Linked DNA regions of Homo sapiens: regions 1 and 3 are each linked to region 2. Evidence: promoter capture Hi-C in 16 types of primary human blood cells and fetal thymus (Javierre and others, 2016). All regions are on one chromosome and are shown on one strand. Each heading gives the region's core, a stretch centred on a gene start or on the middle of the fragment in contact. The rest is flanking DNA. Distances are from core to core; before and after follow the strand shown. Region 1 overlaps BRD1 (bromodomain containing 1). Region 2 holds the start of ALG12 (ALG12 alpha-1,6-mannosyltransferase). Region 3 has its middle 3.8 kb from the start of IL17REL.

Region 1 (4,211 bases), core at 335-2,834, 100 kb before region 2:
GAACGTTGCCCCACAAAGCTAGGGGTGGGAATGACATGGTTGGGTACCCAAGTCGCCGGGGGCAGGGCAGAGCTGTCTAAATGGCCAGATGACTGTGGTTCATGGCCCACGGCCCTGCTCTGCGAAATGCTACCTTTAGTTCAGTAAATGCCAGCATCTTTAGGAGAGTCTGAGTGCAGAGGAAGGTGCGGTGAGGCCAGTGAGAAACGCAGCCCATGCTCTGAGCACTCAGAGTTTTCCCCAGCACAATTTTTATTTGCTTCAGCTTTTTCAATTAAAACAAATCTAGGCCAGGCACAGTGGCTTATGCCTGTAATCCCAACACTTTGGGAGGCTAAGGCAGGCGGATTACCTTAGGTCAGTCAGGAGTTCGAGACCAGCCTGGCCAACGTGACGAAACCCCATCTCCACTAAAAACACAAAAATTAGTTGGGCGTGGTGACGTGCACCTGTAATTCCGGCTATTCGGGAGGCTGAGGCAGGAGAATCGCTTGAACCCAGGGGGCAGAGGTTGCAGTGAGCGTAGATCACGCCACTGCACTCCAGCCTGGGCGACACAGCAAGACTCCATCTCAAAAAGAAGAAAAAAAAAAAAACTGTTTCCAGATATAGTAATGTCCATTTCTGTAGAGGAGAATCCCTCCTGCCTGTCAGCCTGCACCAGGAAGGGCTCTGTTGTGAGCTGCCAGCTACAATCTGCACTAAAACCCAGAAAACCAACAAAGTCACAGGAGGGCAGGAATGAGTCAGTGTCTGAAACGGCATTCAGGTCTGTTCCTCATACAGGAGAGCAGGCGCTCCTGCAGGCTGCGTCCACCCAGGTGCCCTCCCGAGCTCCCAGGCACTGGCTGGACCTGCCCTGCAGCTCCTCCTTCCAATGTGTCGTCCTGGCGCTTCCTTCCCGAGTGCCCGCCACTCCAGACCCGATGCAGGTCAAGCACAGGGAGCTGCCACCTGTGGCCTCATGGCCCCTGCCATGCCTCCCAGTGCCACCCGCAGCAGCCAACTCATGCACCCACACTGCCCGGGAGGCACCCACACAGGGCCTCCCGGTGCCACCCGCAGCAGCCAACTCATGCACCCACACCGCCCGGGAGGTACCCACACAGGGCTCTCCCCACTGGGCACTGAGCCAGTGTCTCCTGCTTCAATCCATGCCAGATACAAACTTTTATAAAAAATTAACAGCCAGAAACATGGAGGAAAAAAAGACTTAAAAACACAAGCCAAAGGGGGCCGCGGCCGGTGGCTCTAATCCGTAACCCTAGCACTTTGGGAGGCTGAGGACCACTTGGGCCCAGGAGTTCAAGGATGCAGTGACCTAGGATTGCGCCACTTCACTCCTGCCTGGGCAACAGAGCAAGACCCCGCCTCAATTAAAAGAACAAAACAAAACCTCTGCAGGTACCCACTAGGTGACAGCTGGGATCCTCACAGGGCCTACCTAGTGGACTCAACGCCCCCAAGACAGAACAGCTTCCCCACCCTCTGAGGACGGCTGTGCAGGTCAACAGCCTGGGGCTGCAGCAAGTGCTCAAGGGAGACAACGCCTCCCGACAGTGACCCCAGAAAAAGTTCCAGAATAGTGACATCTTTATTCCAGAGTCAACATACTACCCTCCAGCATTAGACTACAGACTAAGGCTGGGGCTGGGCGAGGTGGCTCACACCTGTAATCTCAACACTTTGGGAGGCCTAGGCAGGAGGATTGCTTAAGCCCAGGAATTCAAGATCAGCCTGGACAACATAGTGAGACCCTGTCTCTATAAAATAGACTAGGGCCAGGTGGCCTCCAACACTGCAGGAAGTGAGTCCAGGTAGGAAAAAAGTGCCTTCCGAATTCTGGGGCCCAAGGTGCCTACCCTGCAGGGAATAGTAAACAGACACTCTCTGGACTGCGGGGGCCAAGGCCCGCCACCCAAGGCCCTTAGCAGCCGGCATATACCACCTGTGGGTGACCTTGTCTACACAGGACTTTGCTATCCATCCGCCAGGACCTGAGGGAAGAGAACTGCCGGACCCCATTCCTGCCCCTTCTGCCACCATTTCAGACACCCCACAGGGACTCATTTTGGGGGTTCCCAAATGAGTTCCCACTGACTTCCAGGAAATCCATAAGCTGCTCTATGACCCCAGCTTGGGTGACCATCTCTCCTTGCCACGCTGACCCTTTTCCCCTGACCTCACAGTGCCTCAAGCTCCAGGAATGGCTCAGAAGGGGTGCAGAGCCAGTGGTGATGGCACGGTGGGTCAAGGAGTCACCCCTGGAGGTGATGTGTCTGGCAGAGGCCTTGGGGAGCTCAAAAGGATGGCACTGGGGGTGCATGACTGTTCATGAAGCCAAAGAGAAATAAAAAGAGGCAGCAGAAGGAACTTTCTTCATGTGAGATAGTTCAAGTTCAGACTTCCTGCTAACAACATCTATTAGGACATGGGCTGGACCAACTCATCTTCCTATGGAATACCAAGACAGGAGATCCAGACAAACTCCATCATGTGCACCAAGCCCAAGCTCAAACAATCAGCTGGTGCAGCATGTCTGCTGAATGACTGTGCTGTGATGGGCTAGGACCAGCAGGCGGCCCAGGGGCCCTAGACTGCTCTGTTCACCTCCATCCAACCACATCGCTCTGCACACCAGGCACCATCTCTGTAGGCTCACCACTAACAAAGGGACCGGTACCATCTGAGGACTGCCTTTACCAACAAGACTAAAAGATTTCTTGGAAGAATATCAATTCCAGGGGTCAATGTTTCTCTTTCTCTAAACATGCCTCACATAGAGGATCTCCAGATGCAGCTGCGTCAAAGACAACCAAAATTCAAGAGACTGCTCTGGATAACCATGCAAAACCCCTTAGAGACAGGGTCTCACTCTGTCACCCAGGCTGGAATACAAAGGTGCGATCACAACTCACTGCAGCCTCGACCTCCTGGGCTCAAGCAATCCACCCACCTCAGCCTTCCAGTGTTAGGATTACTAGCCTGAGCCACCGCACCCAGTCAACTTTTCTAACAGCTCAAGTCACTCTAATTTAAATGCATGAGGAGAATATCTAGGTATTTAAAGTTCGCCACGTATTTTCACCTGAGTGATGCTTCCCTTCCTAAGGCTGACCAAGACCAGTTCATCCTTTTAAACTCAAAATAAAATGACACCAGTGAAGGCGGGAGGAGCACCCTATCAGGGTGAAGGCGGGAGGAAAACCTCATTCGAATGAAGGTAGGAGGAGCACCCATCACAAAGCCTTGCCTATCTGAGGTTCTTGTCCGTGAGGCTGAAGTCCAGGCTCTCGTAGTAGAGGAGCTCCTCCTAGAAGATCTGAAGCAGTCAAAGGAACCAAACCGACACAGGCCGTCTGCCTGCTGATCACAGTCTCTTTTAAGACACTTTCTACTTTGCATTCTGATGAACCTAGGAGTTTTGTTAAACAGATTATGCGTGTATTTATCCCTCATTTCATGCAATAACCAAAAAGAGTTATCAGGAAACCCTGTTTGTCTTTTCACCCCATGTATGAACTCTCATGTGAATGAGTCCTGCAGTAATCCATGTTAAGGGAGCCCTAATTTCAAACTGGTGCAAATGGAAAAGACTTTCCCTTTTCCTTTAAGACTAAAGACAAAATGTCCTCCTGGCCGGGCTCGGTGGCTCACGCCTCTAATCCTAGCACTTTGGGAGGCAGAGGCAGATGGATCACGAGGTCAGGAAATCAAGACCATCCTGGCTAACATGGTGAAACCCCGTCTCTACTAAAAATACAAAAAATTAGCAGGTGTGGTGGTGGGCGCCTGTGGTCCCAGCTACTCAGGAGGCTGAGGCAGGAGAATGGCGTGAACCCGGGAGGTGGAGCTTGTAGTGAGCCGAGATCGTGCCACTGCGCTCCAGCCTAGGTGACAGAGCAAGACTCCGTCTCAAAAAAAAAATGTCATTCTATACAGGTGCAACTCAATCCGTTAATAAAAACTGATGTATGCTGGAGAGAGGAAGTGAAAAGAAAAAATAGGGCTGGGTGCGGTGGTTCACGCCTGTAATCTCAGCACTCTGGGAGGCCAAGGCAGGCAGATCACCTGAAGTCACGAGTTTGAGACCATCCTGGACAACATGGTGAAACCCCATCTCTACAAAAAAAATACAAAAATTAGCCAGACACCGTGGCACACACCTGTAGTCCCAGCTACTCGGGAGGCTGAGGAACGAGGATCGCTTG
Region 2 (3,696 bases), core at 387-2,886:
AAAACGGAACGGGGAGCATCTACGTGCCAAGATGTGGGAGGTGCACACAGCAAGTGCTGCTTGGCAGTCCCCCACAACCCCACTCCACACCTCTCCACCCAGGGGAGTTCCCCAGCAAGGAAGAGTTCAGCTGTGGGGTGAAAACATTACGTGCTGACTCTGACACTCCTGGCGGGCCCCCAGCACCTCCTCGGACCCAACAAGGTGTGCCTTCTGCTGATGACCAGCACAGCTCACTTTCGAGGGCATGAGAAGACCAAGGGTGAGTCTGGATTCTCTGCCAGGAGCACGGGAAGACCAAGTCAACACCAGCAAGCACGAAAACCACGACGAACCCCCCACCAGGCGAGGGTGAACGGACACTGTCCTGCACTAGCCCACTCTGCTGGGCAGCTGGGCAGCAGCTGTGGCTAATCTAAGTGACGGGTGCTTCGAGAGCACCCACAGGTTAAAACGGGCCCAGGCCATGACACTTTAAAATGGTGGTTTACAGAACAATGGCATCTCAGATTAGGGAATGACCTGCAAAGACCCTCTTGTCCCCATCAATCCAGATTTTAAGGCCTCTACCGAAATTGATCAAATCAGGCTAAGCATGGTGGCTCACGCCTGTAACCCTAGCACTTTGGGAGGCTGAGGCAGGCAGATCGCTTGAGGTCAGGACTTCGAGACCAGCCTGGCCAACATGGTGAAACCCCGTCTCTACTAAAAATACAAAAATTAGCCGGACCTGGTGGTGGGTGCCTGTAATCCCAACTTAGGAGGCTGAGGCAGCAGAATCACAGGAACCTGGAAGGCGGAGCTTGCAGTGAGCTGAGATCGCGCCACTGCACTCCAGCCTGGGCGACAAAGTGAGACTCCGTCTCAAAAAAACAGAAAAGAAACTGGTCAAATCAGATGTTACTTTTTTTTTTTTTAAATGTGCAGTGTTATCTGCACTCCTTCCTTCCACAGGCAGGAGTTCTCTGAAATCCAGACGCTGCACGTTTTATTTCCCCTAATTTAAACCAGGGGTTCCTGAACATGAGCGAGTGTTCATCACCTCAAGCGCCTGTAGAAATGCAGATCCCCAGCCCCCAGAGACCCTAAGTGGACCCCAGATCCCCAGCCCCCAGGTGAAAAACCCATCCCCCAGGTGGGAGGTCCGGCCCCAGGTGAGGAGCCCGGCCCCAGGTGAGAGGTCCAGCCCCAGGTGAGAGGTCGGGCCCCCGGATGAGAGGTCCGGCCCCCGGGTGAGAGGTCTGGCCCCCAGGTGACAGGTCCAGCCCCAGGTGAGGAGCCCGGCCCCAAGTGAGGGGTGCAGCCCCAGGTAAGGAGCACGGGGCTGTGACGCGTGGACATGCGCGGTGAGGCCTCAGGAATCCAGCGCCAGCGCCAGCTCGGGTCGCGCCCTCGCCCGCCTCCTCCCTGGTCTCGCCGCGCGCCCGCCTGAAGGCCCCGGTCGCGGCAGCGCGCACTGACCTCCGCAGCTCCCGGCGGCGTCCTTCGAAGCGCGGCTGCCTGGGCCAGCCTCGGCAGGAAGCAGGACGGCGGAAACAGAACAGAGCCCGAATCTAAAGTCCTTGCCCAAATCTAAAGTGGCTACCGCAGCCCCGGCCGCTACGGCCGCAGAGACCCTCTGTGCCCTGAGTAAAGATGGCCGCCGCGGGCTGCGCGCGAGGGGCGGGGAGCGGGAGGCGGGGTCGGACCTGCACGCCCCGCCCCCGGACTCCTGGCGGCCGCTGATCCGGGGCCTTCCCATTGGTCACCTCTCGTGGCGAACTCGGATTGGGCCATATCAGGCCGGGGCGGGTCCCATCAACCAATAGCGGCGCGGGGCTGGCGGGTGGGGCGGGGCCTCGCCGGCGCCGTCAAGTAGCCTGGGGGACAGGCCGGCGCGGCTGGGAGCGGGTGGGCGGCCGGGAGGCCGGAGCAGCACGGCCGCAGGACCTGGAGCTCCGGCTGCGTCTTCCCGCAGCGCTACCCGCCATGCGCCTGCCGCGCCGGGCCGCGCTGGGGCTCCTGCCGCTTCTGCTGCTGCTGCCGCCCGCGCCGGAGGCCGCCAAGAAGCCGACGCCCTGCCACCGGTGCCGGGGGCTGGTGGACAAGTTTAACCAGGTGGGAAGGGGCCGGGCGGGGTCGTCAACCTTGGGCCCGGGGTCCCCCTCACCCTGCATCCGGGGTCGCCCCACCTTGGGCCCAGGGTCGCCCTCACCCTGGATCCGGGGTCCCCCTCACCCTGGATTCGGGATCCCCCTCACCGTCGATCCAGAGTCCCTCCACCGTGGTCCTGGAGTCCCCCTCACCCTTGACCCGGATCCACCCCCACCGTGGAACCAGGGTCGACGCCACCGTGGGCCTGGAGTCCCCTCACCCTCGACCTGGGCTCGCCCCCACCCTGGACCCGGGTCAGGTGGTACCAAGCACTATGGGCACTGTCTCCTCGCAGGGGATGGTGGACACCGCAAAGAAGAACTTTGGCGGCGGGAACACGGCTTGGGAGGAAAAGACGCTGTCCAAGTACGAGTCCAGGTGGGTGCCCTGGAGCACCCCTGTGGGTCTTGGCCTGGCGCTGTCCTGGGAAGTCGTGTCCTGCCTTTGGTGCCTGTGTTAATGACAGGGAGACAGAACAGCCCCCGAGGCACCAGTCACCCGTCCGAGTCACCTCGGCTTCTCCCTGAGGACTAATGGCTGGCCCCTCTCTGGCCTTCCAGCTTCTGCTCTGGTCCCTACCCCCTCAACAGACAGTGGCTTTTCAAAATGTAAACTGGAACACCAGCCCCACTTGTGGGAACCGCTCCTGGCTTCCCCTGACAGTGGGGTCCCCTTATTCTCTGTGCCCGGAGTCCTGGCTCCCCGGCCCCTGCACCCAGGTTGGCGTATTGGTTCGGATTTTTCTTCACTGCCTTGGAGGCGCTGACGGTGGGCCGGTGTGGGCCTGTGTTTCAGCGAGATTCGCCTGCTGGAGATCCTGGAGGGGCTGTGCGAGAGCAGCGACTTCGAATGCAATCAGATGCTAGAGGCGCAGGAGGAGCACCTGGAGGCCTGGTGGCTGCAGCTGTGAGTGCCTTAAAACCTCTTAGAAGATACTTTTTATTTTCCAACTTAGAATTTGAAATAACCTCAGACTTAGAAAGGTACAGGAACAGTAGGGAGCTCCCACCTGCCTCGCACCCACCTTACCCCTGCATTACCGTTTTTTATCACCAGAGTCAGCGATCAAAACCAGGAAATTAAGGAGAAGATTCTGTCCACACCTAGACTCTTGTTTCCTGGACCTTACAATACTCCAGAGCATATGTTACGTTCAGCTGCATGTTTGTTTTAAAGAACCGTGTCTGCTGGGATTCAGTGAATGTTTTCCTCCATCCTCAGGAAGAGCGAATATCCTGACTTATTCGAGTGGTTTTGTGTGAAGACACTGAAAGTGTGCTGCTCTCCAGGAACCTACGGTCCCGACTGTCTCGGTGCGTTTCTCCTCAGGGAAATCCCATCTCCTACGTCACTTCCCCTCTTCTTCTCATGATTCTTGGGAGGTAAAAGCACAGAGGGGACCTGGGGTGCATCAGCTTTCTGTAGGGTCTGGGACCCTGCCGGATGGCTGCCTCCCCCATCCCCAACACAGCTTGGAGCACTTCGCACCGTCTGGCTGCAGCCTCACCACTAACCTCATGCTTTAGCGTAAAACTCTGAGTATGTCTTCCCAGCTGTGCTGTT
Region 3 (3,753 bases), core at 738-3,237, 98 kb after region 2:
GCGAGGCCTGGGGTGGGGGTGGGGTCTTTCCAAGTCTGGGTCTCCAGGGCAGCACGGCCACACAGCCCAGTGACCATCGGTCGCCCAGAAGCCCAACGGTGAAGGGATCTGAGGGTCCAACCCCGGGGGCTCCCTCCGCGCCCGCGCTGGGCACCAGATGGGAGGAAACGGGGTGCGGAGACCCTGGGCGGCGCCGAGACTCGTCGGACGAACGCGGGAAGGAACGAACCAGCGTCCGCCCGGGACCCGGGCTGGAGCCTTCCCCAGAGCGGCTCGGAGGGTCCGGAGCGGGTGCGGGGGTGCTGGGCACGAGGTTCCCAAGAAAACCACGGCGAGGACGCGGGTTCACCACAACAGCGCTGTGTTCTCGGCCTCAGCTCCGCGCAGGTTTCCACGGAGACGCGCGTGGCTCCGGGTCGTCGTCCTGGTCCCCGCGCCGGTCCCGACTCACGGGGTCCGCGGGCTGCAGCTCCGCCCGCCGAGCCGCACGAAGGACGCGCCCTGCAGGACCGCGGCGCAGAACGAGCGGCAGCGCTTGCAGGGCCCGGCGGGTGGCAGCAGCCCGCGGCACACGAGGCAGGGCGGCGCTCGGGGGTCCCTCGGCAGCCCTGGGGAGGGAGGGGCGCTGAGACCGCGTGCGCCGGCCCCACATTCCCCGGCCGCGCCTCCCTCCACCCCGACAGCACTCGCCCGCCCCGGCGCGCCCCGGGACTCCCCACCCCCTACAGCGCCTTCCTCCACCTGCAGTCGCGTCCCCGGGCCCCGCCCACCCCGCCCCCCGCCACCGCTCCTCCAGCCCACTGACCTTCCCACACCCCCCGGGAACCCTGGACTGCGTCCACAGACCCTGAGCCCACAGATCCCTGAAACCTCGCCCCTGTCCTCTCCTACCCCAGCCCACCCCCGACCGCGCCCCAGGCCCCCTGACTGTGCCTAGCGCCCCTTGACCTCGACCCCAGGTCCCCGGACCGCACCCACCCGTCCCTCAATCCACACCCACCAACAGGCGACGCCCGCGCCCCTCAAGGCCACGCCCCCAGGCAGGCCCCCCAGGGTCACCCTTATCACCTGCAAGACCAGCCCCAGGTGGCTCCCAACTCGCTCCTGCATGGAGCCCACCTGCTTCCCCCAGCTTTCGGAAAACCAAGACCTCCACTCAAACGCAGGGGGGCGGGGGTAGGGTGTCGTCCCTCTGGGATGAAGGCTCTGCGGATGGGAGGTCCCCTTCCCCACCCCCCTCACCCTCCCTAACGCCCCTCCACCTGGCCCCCCACCCCAGAGGGGCAGTCCAGCTCTGCCTCTAGCTTGTCAGCCTCTCTCAGCCCTCCTCCAGGTGAGTCCTGCCTAGAAGGACCCAACCGGCCAGGAGATTTGGAGAAGAGCAGCCCCCACCCCAACTCGTCCTGCCCTGCTGTGCCTGGGCTCAGGTTCAGATGCCTGGTGCTGAGGACCCATCCCCACTGGGCCAGGACCAAGTGGGTGGTGGGTTCAGGACGGTGCCTGCAGGCGAGGGCCAGCAGCATGCTGGGCCAGCCACAGAGTCCCAGGATGGGTCAGCAGCTGGAGGGGTCAGGAGGGAGGTGGGAGTGTTAAGACTGGGGGTGCTCCAGGAGCCACCGAGTCCCCACAAGAGGCTGCACCCAGTGCAGGCCATCTGGACACACTGGCACCTTCGAAGTGGGCCTGGGCTGGGGCTCCTGGTGGAGCTAGAAGACCTGCTACCCACAACCTGTGGTCAGACCTCACCAGGGCCCATGGGCAGTTCTGATGCCAGGAGCTGCCGGAGGAAGCACACCCCAGGCCCACCATCCCACGTGGTGCCCGTGGTCTGGCAGGCGGCCACGTGGTGCCCGTGGTGTGGCAGGCGGCTGCAGACCGTGCCCTCTCCTGCATGGACTCAAAGGTGGCAGCCGTGATGGGTGAGAGCAGGTAGCTGCCGTCCACCGCAGGGCTGGCCACTCAGCAAGGCCACCCCCTGCATGGGAGCTGCTGCGTTTTGAGAACTTTCACGCAGTTCCTCGGAGCGTCACAGGATAGGCAAGGCTGGCAGGTGTGACCACCATGTGTCCCTTTCATCCGAGAGGCTGGGGCCTTGGCCTGGCTCTCACTGGCCTCCAACCGCTGTCCTTGCCCTGGGGCTGTCCCGGGTCCCTGGCCAGCCCTTCTCAGTGGGGTGAGCCTGTGCCAAGCCCCGTCCCCCATGTACTGGGGCTGGTGAGTCAAACTTCAGGTTGCCCAGGCCAGGAAGGACTAGGGGAAGGCCAGCCTGCACACTTGCTGCAGCTATAGCTGGTGGGGGAGGGACAGAAGGAGCCCCAGGGTGGGGTAGGGATGTGGGGTGAAGAGGGGACTCCCTGGTTTTCCTAGCCGCCAGGGCTGTAGGTTCCCAAGCAGCCACAGCCCAGCCCAGAAGTGCAGGCACCACCCTGCTGGGGCACCCACCGCCCACGGCAAACTCCGAGCCCCAGGCTGAGTCACTCTTCCTGGGGGGCTGGGTGGGGAGAGCCCCCAGTGCCTATGCAAAGCAGTCCTTGGCTTCCGGGAACCTCGGAAGGGCTGGGCCAGCTTGGCCCATAGGACAGGCCAGGGCCCACGTGGCACAAGCAGGGCATGAGCAGCAGGAAGAACGAGGTGGGAACAGCTCCCACTCCCCAGGGCTCTCATCCCAGCGGAGAGACGCACGGAGGCCGGGCACAGGACTGGGAGGTCAAATCTGCCAGGGTGGCCCAGCGCAGCAGGCCAGGTAGCACTGCGGGGCAGGGCCTTGTCCCCCAGGCACCCAGGGCCTGATGGGACCCACCGGGGTGCCCAGAAAGTGTGTGTCCAGTAAGTCGGGGCAGAGGCTGGGCCCACCCTAAGTGAAGGAGGAGGGGACGTGGTGTCTGCGGCTCTCCGTGTGTCTGTGCGTGATTAATGGAGCATGCATGAGCTAACCGAGCAGCTGGTGTGGGGCCTGGACCCTGCTGAGGGAGGGGAGGCCCAAGGCCTGGGCCCCAACCCTGTATGGAGGCCAGGGCTGGGGTGAGACTCATTGTGGGGTGTCAGCAGGCTCCGGGGAGCCACTAAAGCCCATGGGGTGCACTCAGTACCTGGGAGTCTGGGACCCAGACCAGCCCTTCCAGGGAAAACCACCAAATAAGGGCATAAGATAGGAAAAGCATCACAAAAACAAGCAAAAGCAGCAGGCAAGACGGTAAAGGAGGACCAGGTCCAGGCCAGGGAAGGTGAGTGAGCCCAAGGAGAGGGCGCTCTGAAAGGTGCCCGGCCCCGAAGCTCCTCCCTCTGAGACTTTGCCACCAGGGCCACCTGGAGCTCTGGGTCCCAAGGCCCTGGAGTGTGGGGACAGAAGACACCCCATGCCCCCAACAATATGCAGCCCCAAACAGCTGGGTGCAAGGGTGAATCAAAAACAGCAGGGTATGGTGCACACCTGTGGTCCCAGCTACTCAGGAGGCTGAAGTAGGAGGATCGCTTGAGCCTGAGAGTTGGAGGCTGCAGTTGGAGGCTGTGACTGCACCACTGCACTCCAGCCTGGGTGACAGAGTGAGATCCTGTCTCAGAAAAAAAAAAAAAGAAAGAAAAAAGATCAAATAATTTTATTAAAAAGTAGAACTTCTAAAAATGAAAACTTTAAGAAATTAAAACTTCAATGGGTTGATAGCATTCTGAAATGAGCTGGAAGACAGGCGAGGAGATATTTTTAGAATGCAGCACAGGCAGCTAAATAAATCAAACAAAGAAGTGGGAGACTAA

What was found. The method cuts DNA at HindIII sites, captures the fragments that hold promoters and counts their contacts. A CHiCAGO score of 5 or more calls a contact.
Region 1: a fragment that was not itself captured here is called in contact with the fragment with the promoter of ALG12 in region 2 in 6 of 17 cell types (total CD4 T cells, naive CD4 T cells, non-activated CD4 T cells and 3 more); the score reaches 7.8 in total CD4 T cells.
Region 3: a fragment that was not itself captured here is called in contact with the fragment with the promoter of ALG12 in region 2 in 17 of 17 cell types (naive CD4 T cells, activated CD4 T cells, M0 macrophages and 14 more); the score reaches 13.7 in naive CD4 T cells.

The regions. Positions count from the first base shown.
Region 1 is chr22:49,814,969-49,819,179 of GRCh38, forward strand. All of the region lies in intron 2 of BRD1 (bromodomain containing 1), which reads right to left. It also overlaps the pseudogene LOC100420885. Among named protein-coding and RNA genes, the nearest start is that of BRD1, 11 kb to the right of the region's middle. RefSeq lists enhancers at 451-994, 995-1,537. The HindIII fragment of the contact is 7,778 bases long and covers 1-4,211 here.
Region 2 is chr22:49,916,802-49,920,497 of GRCh38, forward strand. It overlaps ALG12 (ALG12 alpha-1,6-mannosyltransferase), which reads right to left and starts at 1,637. Exons shown (of 10, transcript NM_024105.4): 1 at 1,462-1,637. CRELD2 (CRELD disulfide isomerase 2) reads left to right here and starts at 1,833. Exons shown (of 10, transcript NM_024324.5): 1 at 1,833-2,097; 2 at 2,429-2,511; 3 at 2,929-3,039; 4 at 3,355-3,446. The coding sequence starts at 1,969. RefSeq lists silencers at 1,227-1,426, 1,537-2,036. The HindIII fragment of the contact is 6,188 bases long and covers 1-3,696 here.
Region 3 is chr22:50,014,676-50,018,428 of GRCh38, forward strand. No RefSeq gene overlaps it. Among named protein-coding and RNA genes, the nearest start is that of IL17REL, 3.8 kb to the left of the region's middle. RefSeq lists an enhancer at 2,626-2,685. The HindIII fragment of the contact is 6,527 bases long and covers 1-3,753 here.